Linked DNA regions of Homo sapiens: region 1 is linked to region 2. Evidence: promoter capture Hi-C in human tissues and cell types (Jung and others, 2019). All regions are on one chromosome and are shown on one strand. Each heading gives the region's core, a stretch centred on a gene start or on the middle of the fragment in contact. The rest is flanking DNA. Distances are from core to core; before and after follow the strand shown.

Region 1 (6,680 bases), core at 3,573-6,072, 36 kb after region 2:
CTCACTTCTGTGCCAAACTGACTCTCTGCTGGTCCTTCTAGACTTGGCTTGTGTTAGCCTGCTTGGAACTCTCTCCTGATCCCCCTCATCTGCAGTCTCAGTTCAGTGCTCTCCTCAGAACTCCTCCTCTAGTGTTCACCCAATTCAGTTTTGTATCTTCCTATTATGTTAACTGCTGTACTCCATTACTATCTTTTTAAAAAATAATTTGGACTCCCTTGTTAGATGGTTTGTTCAGGAGCTGACCTATCATATTTATCTCTGTATCTCCAGGACCTGGTATCATACTTGGCTTATAGCAGGTGTGATGGTTAACAGTAAGTGTCAACTTGATTGGATGGAGGGATACAAAGTATTAATCCTGGGTGTGCCTGTTTTGGTGTTGCCAAAAGAGATTAACATTTGAATCAGTGGGCCCTTAAACTGGTGGGCACAATCTAATCAGCTTCCAACGAATATAAAGCAGGCAGAAAAACGTGAAAAGAAGACACGGGTCTAGCCTCCCAGCCTACATCTTTCTCCCCTGCTGGATGCTTCCTGCCCTTGAACATCGGACTCCAAGTTCTTCAGTTTTGGGACTCGGACTGGCTCTCCTTGCTCCTCAGTTTGCAGACAGCCTATTGTGGGGCCTTGTGATTGTGTGAGTTAATACTTAATAAACTTTTATATATATATGTACATATATTTATATATATTGTGTATATATATGTATATATATTATATATATAGTATATATATGTATATATTATATATATAGTATATATGTATATATACTATATATATAGTATATATATGTGTATATATTATATATATAGTATATATATATGTATATATATATATATATCTCCTATTCGTTCTGTCCCTCTAAGAGAACCCTGACTAATACAGCAGGCATTTCATCCATTCAGAAATATTCACTGGGCATCTCCTGTGTGCCAGGTACAGTGTAAGGTGCTGCAGGTAAATAGCATTATAGTGCTTGCTGAATGAACAGTCTCTGATATAGTTTTGATATTCCCCCCCCCAAATATCACATCAAAATATGATCCCCAATGTTGGAGGTGGGGCCTTATCAGACTGGCAACCATCACCACCAGTCAGAGGCTTATTAGACTGGCAATTCTCAAACTCTATACCAGAGAAAAACGGGAACTTTTTAAAAGCACAGATTGTAGGGCCCTCACCCCAGACTTAAATAAAAATTGGGGGGACTGGAGCACATGAGTTTGGATTAAATTACAAGTGCCCCAGATGATTCTGATGTATGGGATCCACTACTCAGAAAAGAAATCCTGGCCGGGTTGGGCGATTAACAGGCGGTGGCTAGGGAGGACGGAGAGGGGGCGTTTGCTCCTCTGGGACTTTTCATGCCTCGTTTTTTTTTTCAGATGTGGCTTGGTCTGGACGCAAGGTCCCAGCAGCCAGCTTAAGCTTACTCTTCTGTGAAAGGGGAAAGTATCCCCTGTGGAAAGCAGTTAAACTTGTGGAGGGGGTGCGAGACGTGAGTTCTCCCCCATGCCAGGCGAATGGTGTGGACTTGAGCTGGTCCAGCAGCCGGCTCGACTTGTCTGAGGGAGCCCTGGAGGGGGCGGGGAGGGGGCCCACAGAACGTGGGTTCTATAAAGAGACATTGGGAAGATTCGATTCCGAGAAGAGGAAGAGCCGGATTGAAAGAGAGCCAGGCCCTTGAGGGGGAGGGGGCTGCCAAGATGGCGTCGGCCTCCTCCGGGCCGTTGTCTTCGGTCGGTTTTTCTCCGTTGATCCCGCGGTCCCTTCCTGTACCTCGTCCTCAGCATCTGGAATCAAGAGTCCCATGGCATCTGAGGTGCCTTATGCCTCTGGCATGCCCATCAAGAAAATAGGCCATAGAAGTGTTGATTCCTCAGGAGGGACAACCTCATCAGCCTTGAAAGGTGCCATCCAGTTAGGCATTACCCACACTGTGGGGAGCCTGAGTACCAAACCAGAGAGTGATGTCCTCATGCAAGATTTCCACATGGTGGAGAGTATCTTCTTTCCCAGTGAAGGGAGCAACCTGACCCCTGCTCATCACTACAATGCCTTTCGTTTCAAGACCTATGCACCTGTTGCCTTCCGCTACTTCTGGGAGCTATTTGGTATCCGGCCCGATGATTACTTGTATTCCCTCTGCAGTGAGCCGCTGATTGAACTCTGTAGCTCTGGAGCTAGTGGTTCCCTGTTCTATGTGTCCAGCGACGATGAGTTCATTGTTAAGACAGTCCGACATAAAGAAGCGGAGTTTCTGCAGAAGCTGCTTCCAGGATACTACATAAACCTCAACCAGAACCCTCGGACTTTGCTGCCTAAATTCTATGGACTGTACTGTGTGCAGACAGGTGGCAAGAACATTCGGATTGTGGTGATGAACAATCTTTTACCAAGATCGGTAAAAATGCATATCAAATATGACCTCAAAGGCTCAACCTACAGGCGGCGGGCTTCCCAGAAAGAGCGAGAGAAGCCTCTTCCCACATTTAAAGACCTAGACTTCTTACAAGACATCCCTGATGGTCTTTTTTTGGATGCTGACGTGCACAACGCTCTCTGTAAGACCCTGCAGCGTGACTGTTTGGTGCTGCAGAGCTTCAAGATAATGGATTATAGCCTCTTGATGTCAATCCATAATATAGATCATGCACAACGAGAGCCCTTAAGCAGCGAAACACAATACTCAGTTGATACTCGAAGACCAGCCCCCCAAAAGGCTCTGTATTCCACAGCCATGGAATCCATCCAGGGAGAGGCTCGACGGGGTGGCACCATGGAGACCGATGACCATATGGGTGGCATCCCTGCCCGGAATAGTAAAGGGGAAAGGCTTCTGCTTTATATTGGCATCATTGACATTCTACAGTCTTACAGGTTTGTTAAGAAGTTGGAGCACTCTTGGAAAGCCCTGATACATGACGGAGACACTGTCTCAGTGCATCGCCCAGGCTTCTATGCTGAATGGTTCCAGCGCTTCATGTGCAACACGGTATTTAAGAAGATTCCCTTGAAGCCTTCTCCTTCCAAAAAACTTCGGTCTGGCTCATCTTTCTCTCAGCGAGCAGGCTCCAGTGGCAACTCCTGCATTACTTACCAGCCATTGGTCTCTGGGGAACACAAGGCACAAGTGACAACAAAGGCGGAAGTGGAGCCAGGTGTTCACCTTGGTTGTCCTGATGTTTTACCTCAGACTCCACCTTTGGAGGAAATCAGTGAGGGCTCACCTACTCCTGACCCCAGTTTCTCACCTCTAGTTGAAGAGACTTTGCAAATGCTAACTACAAGTGTGGACAACAGTGAGTATATGGGGAATGGAGACTTCTTACCCACCCGGCTGCAGGCCCAGCAGGATGCTGTCAACACAGTTTGTCATTCAAAGACCCGCAGCAACCCTGAGAACAACGTGGGCCTTATCACACTGGATAATGACTGTGAAGTGCTGACCACACTCACCCCAGACACTGGCCGTATCCTGTCCAAGCTACATACTGTCCAACCCAAGGGCAAGATCACCTTCTGCATGGGCATCCACGTGGCCCATCTGGCTCTGAAGCACCGACAAGGCAACAATCACAAGATCCGCATCATTGCCTTTGTGGGAAACCCGGTGGAGGACAATGAGAAGAATCTGGTGAAACTGGCTAAATGCCTCAAGAAGGAGAAAGTAAATGTTGACATTATCAATTTTGGGGAAGAGGAGGTGAACACAGAAAAGCTGACAGCCTTTGTAAACACGTTGAATGGCAAAGATGGAACCGGTTCTCATCTGGTGACAGTGCCTCCTGGGCCCAGTTTGGCTGATGCTCTCATCAGTTTTCCGATTTTGGCTGGTGAAGGTGGTGCCATGATGGGTCTTGGTGCCAGTGACTTTGAATTTGGAGTAGATCCCAGTGCTGATCCTGAGCTGGCCTTGGTCCTTCGTGTATTTATGGAAGAGCAGCGGCAGCGGCAGGAGGAGGAGGCCCGGCAGGCAGCTGCAGCTTCTGCTGCTGAGGCCGGGATTGCTACGACTGGGACTGAAGACTCAGACGATGCCCTGCTGAAGATGACCATCAGCCAGCAAGAGTTTGGCCACACTGGGCTTCCTGACCTAAGCAGTATGACTGAGGAAGAGAAGATTGTTTGTGCCATGCAGATGTCCCTGCAGGGAGCAGAGTTTGGCCTGGCAGAATCAGCAGACATTGATGCCAGCTCAGCCATGGACACATCTGAGCCAGCCAAGGAGGAGGATGATTACGACGTGATGCAAGACCCTGAGTTCCTTCAGAGTGTCCTAGAGAACCTCCCAGGTGTGGATCCCAACAATGAAGCCATTCGAAATGCTGTGGGCTCCCTGGCCTCCCAGGCCACCAAGGACAGCAAGAAGGACAAGAAGGAGGAAGACAAGAAGTGAGACTGGAGGGAAAGGGTAGCTGAGCCTGCTCAGGGGACTGCATGGGAAGCACGGAATATAGGGTTAGATGTGTGTTATCTGTAATCATTATAGCCTAAATAAAGCTTGGCAAGATTTTTTCCTTCTTTGCTTCAAAAAAAAAAGAAAGAAAGAAAGAAAGAAAGAAAGAAAGAAAGAAAGAAAGAAAGAAAGAAAGAAAGAAAAGAAAAGAAAAGAAAAGAAATCCTGATGCCTAAATCTGACCCCTTGAAATGCTGATGAGCTTCATCTGAGCTGTGTGATCTCTCATGTGCAGCTAAGGTTGAGAACCACTAACATAAAATAATTCACATTAAAATCACCAGGAAGCTTTAATAACATTTCAAATACTTGGACCCAACCCCTAAAGATTCTAATTTAATTGGCCTGGGACTCAGGTACTGATATTTTTCAAAAGCTCACAAGGTAATTCTGAAATTCAGCAAAAGTTGAGAACCACTATTCAGACTAAGTGACTTGTCCAATGTCTCTGGGTGCATCAGACTTTACGGCCTTCCTTACACAGGGGTTGTGAATGAAATATGGCTATGGAAAGCAATTGTTGAGTAATATGTTATAAAGTATGGTGGTGATGATGATGATGACAATGATGACAATATTTCTTGAGTGCGTCCTATGCACCAGGCACTATGCTAAGCATTTTATGAGCTTAATCTTATTGAATCTTCAACATTAGCCTGCTGGTATTATTTTCCCTTTTCCTTGATTATAATATGTCATCAGTTGAGGATGACAATTTAATAACAGTTATTAGAGGCTGTTGCTTGTTAATAGGAAAATATTTATTCAGTCCTCCAGAGACAAAGATTTGCTTTGATCAGAATAAATGTAAATTTTGATTTATTTAACATGAAATGCAAATAAACATGTGTGCTGCTATCAATGCAAATCACTCATCCCATGTGATATCAAATAAGCAGATACCTTCTATGTAGCCCTCCAAGTTCACCTACATTCACAAATGTTACTTATATCTCATACTGGGGTATCCATACTGGGCCTGGAAGCTGGCAAGTTTATTTAGACACATTCCATTTCAGGAATAATAAAATGCAGGGAAAATGTGTATCTTTGAGTCACAGAATCATGGTATTATTCTTATTTTCAGGTGAGACTTTAAAAGATTAAGTGACTTGCCTATAGTCCCAGGGTTCATTCTACAGCCAAGCCAGAAATAACAACCCAGTGCCCCTGATGCTGGAATTCTCCAGAAGCTCCTCTACTGACATAGTTTCCACTGACAAACTTTCCTTGACAAGAATAAAGTAGTCTGTCAGAACAAAATTTTGCCAGCTCTGTCTACTGCCAGCACTTGGAAATAGGAGTCCCATGGGGTTTGCAAACAAATGAAAGCAGTGGTGGGCTTGCAAGACCTCACCAGTCCTTAGAGTTCAGTTGATATGTCTCTCAATACAATGCAGGAACTAATTTTAAAGCATTTTGAAACAAGCACAATAACTGAAAATTCTGAGTTCAACAAGAAACAAATGCATTTAATCTTTGAAGAAAAATCAAGTCAATTAAGAAATGAAAATAGGTTGAGACTAGACGAATAAGAATGGAAATGATCGATTGGAGAAGTTTTCAGCCTTGAACAGGCCATTACCAAGTGGTCAGTATGACCACATTTATCTGATATTATTTGGTCCTTTTCTTTCTTTTAAAAGTACTATTTAGTTATAAGAATCTTAAATGCTGGCTGGTGCAGTGGCTCATGCCTGTAATCTCAGCACTTAGGGAGACTGAGGCTGGAGGATCGCTTGAGCTCAGGAGTTTGAAACCAACCTGGGCAACATGGTGAGACCTTATCTCTACCAAAAGTAAAAAAAAATAGTTGGACATCGTGGCATGAGCCTGTAGTCCCAGCTACTTGGGAGGCTGAGGTGGGAGGATCACTTGAGCCTGGCAGATGGAGGCTGTGGTGAACTGTGATCTTGCCAAGACCGTGTCTCAAAAAAAAGAAAGAAAGAAAGAAAGAAAGAAAGAAAGAAAGAAAGAAAGAAAGAAAGAAAGAAAGAAAGAAAGAAAAGAAAAAAGAAAATTAAACACCACTTTTTAAAAAAAAGCAACAAAGAAAATTTGGACATTAAGAGAATAAACATTCCCATTAATCCCATCTCCACTCTCCTAAGAGATCATCAGTTTAGTGCCTGCTTTTCCAAAAATATATGTCAAAAATGATTTCTCTTTCTTAAAGAGAAAGTATATATCTATAGTCTTAACTTTCCTTTTTTTTCCA
Region 2 (6,361 bases), core at 1,070-3,569:
TTTTATTGTTCTTCCACCGCAGAAGTAGTTCCGGCAGAGAGAGAAGGCATTAAGACTAAAGCAACTGTCCTATATAGGCGCCTGTCAGCCAGGTGTGTGGAACACACACGCGCGCGCACACACACACACACACACGTGCAGCAAGCCTCACTCTGTGCAAATCCCTCCTCTTGCCCAGGCATGGGAAACGTCCCCTGCTGTCTACTTTAGAAAACTCTTCCACCATGCACAGTATTTTTTCAATCTTCTTTTATTCATTTAGAAAGTTACAGGTAACAAATTGCACATCAAACAGTTTTTTTAAAGTATACAACAAAAGCCCAGAGAAGAATGTGACTAAGAATGGTTGTAAATAGAAAAACAAAACCAACCGCCTTCATTGGAATCTAGCTTCTAACCCACTGGAGTATGGAATTTTTAATGACAGGTCAAACTTGGACCACATCCCAGGAGTTTATGTTACTAAGAGGACTGGAAGAATGTCCCTCCAGTTCAATCTGGCTTCTTACCTGGTAAGACATGGCTCCTGGGTATAAAGGGAATTTCCCCCATGGGGCTGTAAATAAAGGATAGTGTTAATGGTAAACATTATACATTCCTCTAGCTCCTTTCAATTATATTATCTCCTTCTCCAAAGTAGATATTTATGTTGTAAAACCAAAGTCTTAAGATTTAATACTGGCCCACAATTATCTCTAGAGTCTTCTAGGTGCAAGCATTTTGCCATGAAAGCCACAGCAAATGCCTTCAGTAGGGAAAATGAGACATCTACATAAATAACTCCCAGAAGGTAGAGAGCAGAAAGGGCCCTGGAGAAAAAATGCTGCAGAAATCAGAGCAGGGGGAGGTTGGCTGTTTCAGGAAAAGCCTCACACCACCAGCAAAACACAGTTTGAAGGATGGTTAGACTTTAGAGTGGTGGATGTGGGGGAAGATGTGCCATCAGATGGTCTAGATGACAACACCATCAGACATTCTTCAGAAAAGTATTTATGAAGACATCGATGCATACAATAACCTAGAGATAGTCCACCTCTCTCCTCAATGACAACTGGGCACCTGTACAAGCACCTATGGGGTCACCTGCTTCCACCTCCCAAGTCAGGCTCTCAAAAATTCTCCCTAGTGGGGTCAAGCATTCTTGGCCTCAGTAGTGCCCATTCTGTGGCAGCGGCCCTGCCCTACCTCTACGGGGGGTATAAGAAACATGAAAACATACCAATCCTGCAGAGATCTAAAAGACCTACGGGCAAATTTTGCATAATGCAACTGAAATTATGACCTTCGTGCAAATAAAACTTTTCGAAGACGTGAATCCTACTTAACAGGTATTCAGGGAACTCACTATTTAAAATGACACTGATTAATCACTAAATGAGTCTTACACTGAATAATTGGTTAAGTCGGCTGAACTCAGTGTCTGATGGCTTAAATACAGAGCGAGGGGCGAAAGCTTCCACAAATTTACGCTGTGCACCTAACATTCGCCACGACAGAAGACTTCTTGCTCTAGTGTATTTATTACTGTAGCATTAAAGGACTTGAAGGCAAAGCTAGCTATTCTAGTTATCAGTTAGAGCGGGACCTGGTCCAATATTGTATTTTCTAGGACTTGATGTACACAAATCTCTCCAGGAACAATCTCTTGAGCACTTTCCTTGAAATACCGCTGCTAAGTACCGCCACAAAAAGAGCTTACGTTTTTCTTTGCACTGGCCACCTCCACACCGTATTCACAACACGAAGGGGCGACCTGAGGCAGGCGTCTGGAGTGAAGGCACTGGCAGGGTGTCCTTTAGCCCCTGCGAGGGCGGCCTGCATGCCCTGGAGGACCGCCCGCCTCGGGTCCCCCGGGAGCGCGAGGACACTTTTCCGCCAGGTACGCGGAGTCGGGCTGCTCCCTTAGGCGGGTCGACTGCCTTGGGAGAGAACCAGCCCATCCTTCCCTTTCTCCAGTCCTCAGGAACCGAGCTACAGAGTCGCTTCCTCACCTCTTGGCTCCTGGCGAGTCTCGCCGGCGTCCCCAAGCGCAGCGTCCCTCTGGGACCAGCCGTCCGCGCGCCTGTCGCTAGCGGCGTCGGGTGTCCCCGCTACTGTGTGTCAGCTGCAGAGCCGATGCCCAGGAACGCGCAGGAGCCAGGCAAGTGCCCGAGAGGCAGAGCCCGGGAGGCAGAGCCCGGGAGGTAGAGCCCGGGCGCGCCGCCGCTGCCCCTCCCGCCGCGCGAGCCCGCCGCCCGCCGCGTTGCCCACGTTGCCCAGCGTTACCGTGTGGACCCGCGCCGTTCACAGTCCGCTCCCGCCGAGATGTGCGCGCTGCCCGGACAGCGGCGGCTGCGCGGGCGGCAGCGGGGCCCCCGCCCTGGGCCGGGCTTTCCCAGAACTCGCCCGCCCCGGGTGAGAGGCCGCTAGCGCCACCGCGGGCGGCCGGGCGGGGGAGCGGCCTGTGCCGGGCCCGCCCCCGGCTCCTGCCGCGCGGGGAAGGCGGGCGCGGAGCGAGGACCCGGCCGCCTCCCCCGGAGCTGGCTGCTGGCGGCGCGACCCCTTCCCAGACCCCTGGCCCTGACCCCTAGGAGCCATCCTTTCTGGCGGGAGCCAGAGAGAGCGCTCCTGGGGCGCCCGGCTCCGGGAAGGGCGGGAACTCTGCACACCTCAGGCGGCGGGAATTTACTCTCACACTACCCCAGGGAACCACCCCTGGTTGACAGATATGGAAACTGAGGTTCACGGCAGATAAAGGACACGATCAAGGTCTCTGTAGTAGATGGCAGCACCAAGTCTCGAATCTGTTCTGTCACTCGTTCATTTAATACATATTCATTGAGCCCCATCAATGTGCCCAGCGTTGTGCCAGGCTCCGGAAATACTCCTTTTGCTGGTAATGGTGGCCATCCAGGACTGCGGACTCCAAATCCAGTACTCTTTCATTGCTCAAGCAAACCTGAAGATCTTCACAACTAGAAACTACAGGCTTTGCACAGAACTTCCTTAGCCGCTGGAGCGGCTTTTATGAGTCTTAGGAGAGCCAAGGACCTGGAAAAAAAAATCAAATCATCATCCTCCTCCCTTTCGCCTAAACCTGTGCCTCCTCCCTCTACCTGTTCTAATGGAAGACCGTTCCCTAGGCCTGACCTCTTCTCCTACATCCGATCAGGACCCATTCCTGTGGCCCATATCGCCTCCCACTGTCCTCTCCCTTGGACCAAATCAATCCTTCAAACCACCGCTGTATTATTCTTCCTTTTTTACAACTTTAATCTATGCAGAAAACTTCACTGGCTCCCTATTGCCCTCCAAACTAACTCTCCATGGCTGTGTAACCCAGCATGCCCTGGCTAATAAGGATCACCCAACAGAATGTCTCTCCCACTCTAGCTCTGTACCTGAACTTAAGCTGAGCCTTCTACCTGGAGCATCTCCTCCCACACACTTTCCTCCTGCTCATGTTTGACCCTTTCTTTCGGGTCCCTCTTAAAAGTGATCTCTCCTTCTTGGAGGCTCCAGAACACAGGAGAGGTTGGAGCAAGAAAGCACAGGAGGCCCAAAGAATCCTGCTGTTAAGAAAAATCTGCCAGTCTGGTCCTTAAACTGTCTTGCTGTTTTCTCACCACTAGGACTTTAATGAAAACTAACATGATTGCCTCCCTGGAGAGCTGATTTCAGAAAGGTCTCTGCAGAGGGCTCTAAAGAAATTCTTTGTTCCTTAAGATCTTGGCATTTTAGCACTAGGACAGTGAGAAGTGGTAATTTACTCAATCCCTGAGGCTATGTTATCCTGAACAAGTAAATAAAGGGCTGAGGAAAGAGGTAGCATCACTGACAATAAACAAGGTAGGCTATTTATTTAATATACAGTATTATATTATGGTTTTATAATTCATTTAATGATCAAATAATATCAAACTTCATCCATCACCTGGCACCCCCAAAGACTTTTTTTTTTTAATTTGGCACATGGGAATAGATAGCTACAAACTGGTAGATGCACAAGCAGTTAACATTGAATCCTCCAAATGAGTCATTGCATGATTAGTAAGCAAGGCAAATCTAGGTCCGTTGAGCAGGAAAGTTATCCAAGTGTGATAATCACTGTGGCCCCATCCCTAGAAAGGGGCGCCTTCCTCAAATCTTTGCAAAGAGAGCAGGTCCAGATCAGTGTCCTTTGCTCGCCCCATGGCTCCCTCTCTAAACGAGATTGGAGGGAAGTCGTGTCCCCGAGGCTGCCTCACCACATTGGAATGTCTGAGCTAACAGTACTTCCAGAGTGTTCATTGCTCCTCTGAACAGCACTGCCCAGACTTTCTGGAGATTTTAATTCACTCCCCAACCTCGCCAACAGTTGCACACAAGGTGCCTTTTTTACACCCTGCTCTCTGTTCAGTGAAACACACAGACCATCTCAGGGGAACAATGGCTCCATTCAAGACTTTTTCAGAAGTGCACCATATAACCTCCACTCTGTGGGCTGCTGCCAGCCATTATCTAGAGGAAGAAAGACTGTCAGATAAAGCGCCTGAGAATTGGGAAAGCACTGGATAATTTCCATGGAAAATTCAGCTTCAGTAAACTAAGTTATGCATCTCTTTATACAAGACCATTCTGCATAGACAACAACAACAGCCCCAAGAAACAATCCTGTGGAGACTTTATTTCAGTAAAGTGCATCTATGTTTGAAATTTCAGAAGAAAACACACATGTCTTTTGAGCTTATTACATTACATACTGGTCTCCAGTCAATGGAAATTGATTTAAATACATGATAAACATAGAGACTAGGGAATTTAAGTAGTAAAATTATTTTAAGAAACGGAACCATCTTCCCTCTTTCTTTCTGCCTCCCCTATCCTGTAATTTTCAGAAAGGAGGTGGGGGCAGTGGTCTCTGACTTCATGGTGGTGGTTGCCAACAAGAGGCCCCACACCCTCTACTGCACATATTACAGAAGAAGGATTGGCGCTTTGCCACACTCAACAAGCCAGCCATCAGTTAACCCGTTCATAAACAAACCATTAGTTTGGGAACTGAGTAGTCAGTGTGGGCACCATTGACTAATGCATTGATCTTTGTCAAACAGCTGCTGATCGTCAAACAGAGGAATTTGCCAACAGACATCTGGGTAGCACAAAGGCCAAGGAAGGACTGAAGGAACAAGGCAGCCCTCAGCTTTTGCAGTTGCCATTTTCTCCCTTTCAAAGTCACTGCATCAAACTGTACCGGGCTTACTAGCTGTCTGCAAATAGACTAGCAAGTTCAGATGGTGAGCAGAGAGCCAAAAACACACTTCCTAGAGTTGTCTTGTATGTGAGGTTAGATGTACTAAGGCAGTTTGAGGTTGATGAAAAACAACCAGCTTGTTAAAGCTGTAGGTATCTCTACCTGTGTGACATGGTTAGGAGTGAGGGTCCCCAGGGAACAGTAAGCAAAGCAGGGAAAGATGATCTTAAACATCCTCTCTCAGCGCAGCCGGTGTTAGGGGAACAGAATTTGGTGTGGGACCACTTGAGTTGGATGCTCAGATCCACCCCCAAGTTGTGAGCCCTCGGACAGGTTACTTATCTCACTGTGCCTCATTTTCCTCTAGATAAATTGTACCTACCTGATATGGTTTGGCTGTGTCCCCACCCAAATCTCAAATTGTAGTTCCCATAATTCCCCCGTTGTTGGAGGGACCCAGTGAGAGGTAATTGAATCGTGAGGATGGGCCTTTCCCATGCTGTTCTCATGACAGTGAATAAGTCTCACGAGATCTGATGGTTTTATAAAGGGGAGTTTTCCTGCACATGCTCTTTCTGTCTTGCCTGCTGCCATGTAAGCTGTGACTTTGTTCCTCCTTGCCTTCTGCCATGATTGTGAGGCCTCCCTAGCCAAGTGGAACTGTGATTCCATTAAATCTCTTTTTCTTTATAAATTACCCAGTCTTGGGTATGCTTTATGAGCAGCGTGAGAACAGACTAATACAGTACCCCTCAGCGTAATTGTGAGGATTAAATGAGCCAGTGTATATGAAAACACTTAGAACGTATAAAGGTTTATTACTTAAATAAATAAAACTCAGATTTTTATTTTCATTTAGACTTATGGTATTTAAAGGCCATAAACCCCTTTGAATATTCCAAAATCTTGTCAATCTTTTGACAGAACATTTTTTTCTTCTTGAAACATTCAGGAATCTCATTGTAATACCTGGTTCAGAGTTGTTGTCAGCAAAAGTTGGGACCAGCTCAAATTGTTTCAAGGAGCCATAATGAAAAATTATAAAAGCACAATTTTTTAAAAAAAGTTTTAGCAACACTGGAATTCCAAAGCATAGACATTAGAAACTTCTTGTTTTTCTTCTCGAGGTAGGGTCTTGCTCTGTCACCC

The links. The method cuts DNA at HindIII sites, captures the fragments that hold promoters and counts their contacts. A contact is called where the count stands out against the background at its distance.
Region 1: a fragment that was not itself captured here is called in contact with the fragment with the promoter of PLCE1 in region 2 in 3 of the 25 tissues and cell types used here (mesenchymal stem cells, mesendoderm cells and thymus).

What each region holds. Positions count from the first base shown.
Region 1 is chr10:93,956,530-93,963,209 of GRCh38, reverse strand. It overlaps the pseudogene PIPSL. Among named protein-coding and RNA genes, the nearest start is that of PLCE1, 34 kb to the left of the region's middle. The HindIII fragment of the contact is 3,706 bases long and covers 2,970-6,675 here.
Region 2 is chr10:93,989,889-93,996,249 of GRCh38, reverse strand. PLCE1 (phospholipase C epsilon 1) reads right to left here and starts at 2,319. Exons shown (of 33, transcript NM_016341.4): 1 at 1,992-2,319. It overlaps LOC105378438 (a long non-coding RNA gene), which reads right to left. Exons shown (of 4, transcript XR_946215.2): 4 at 2,531-3,030. RefSeq lists a silencer at 2,216-2,505. The HindIII fragment of the contact is 15,571 bases long and covers 160-6,361 here.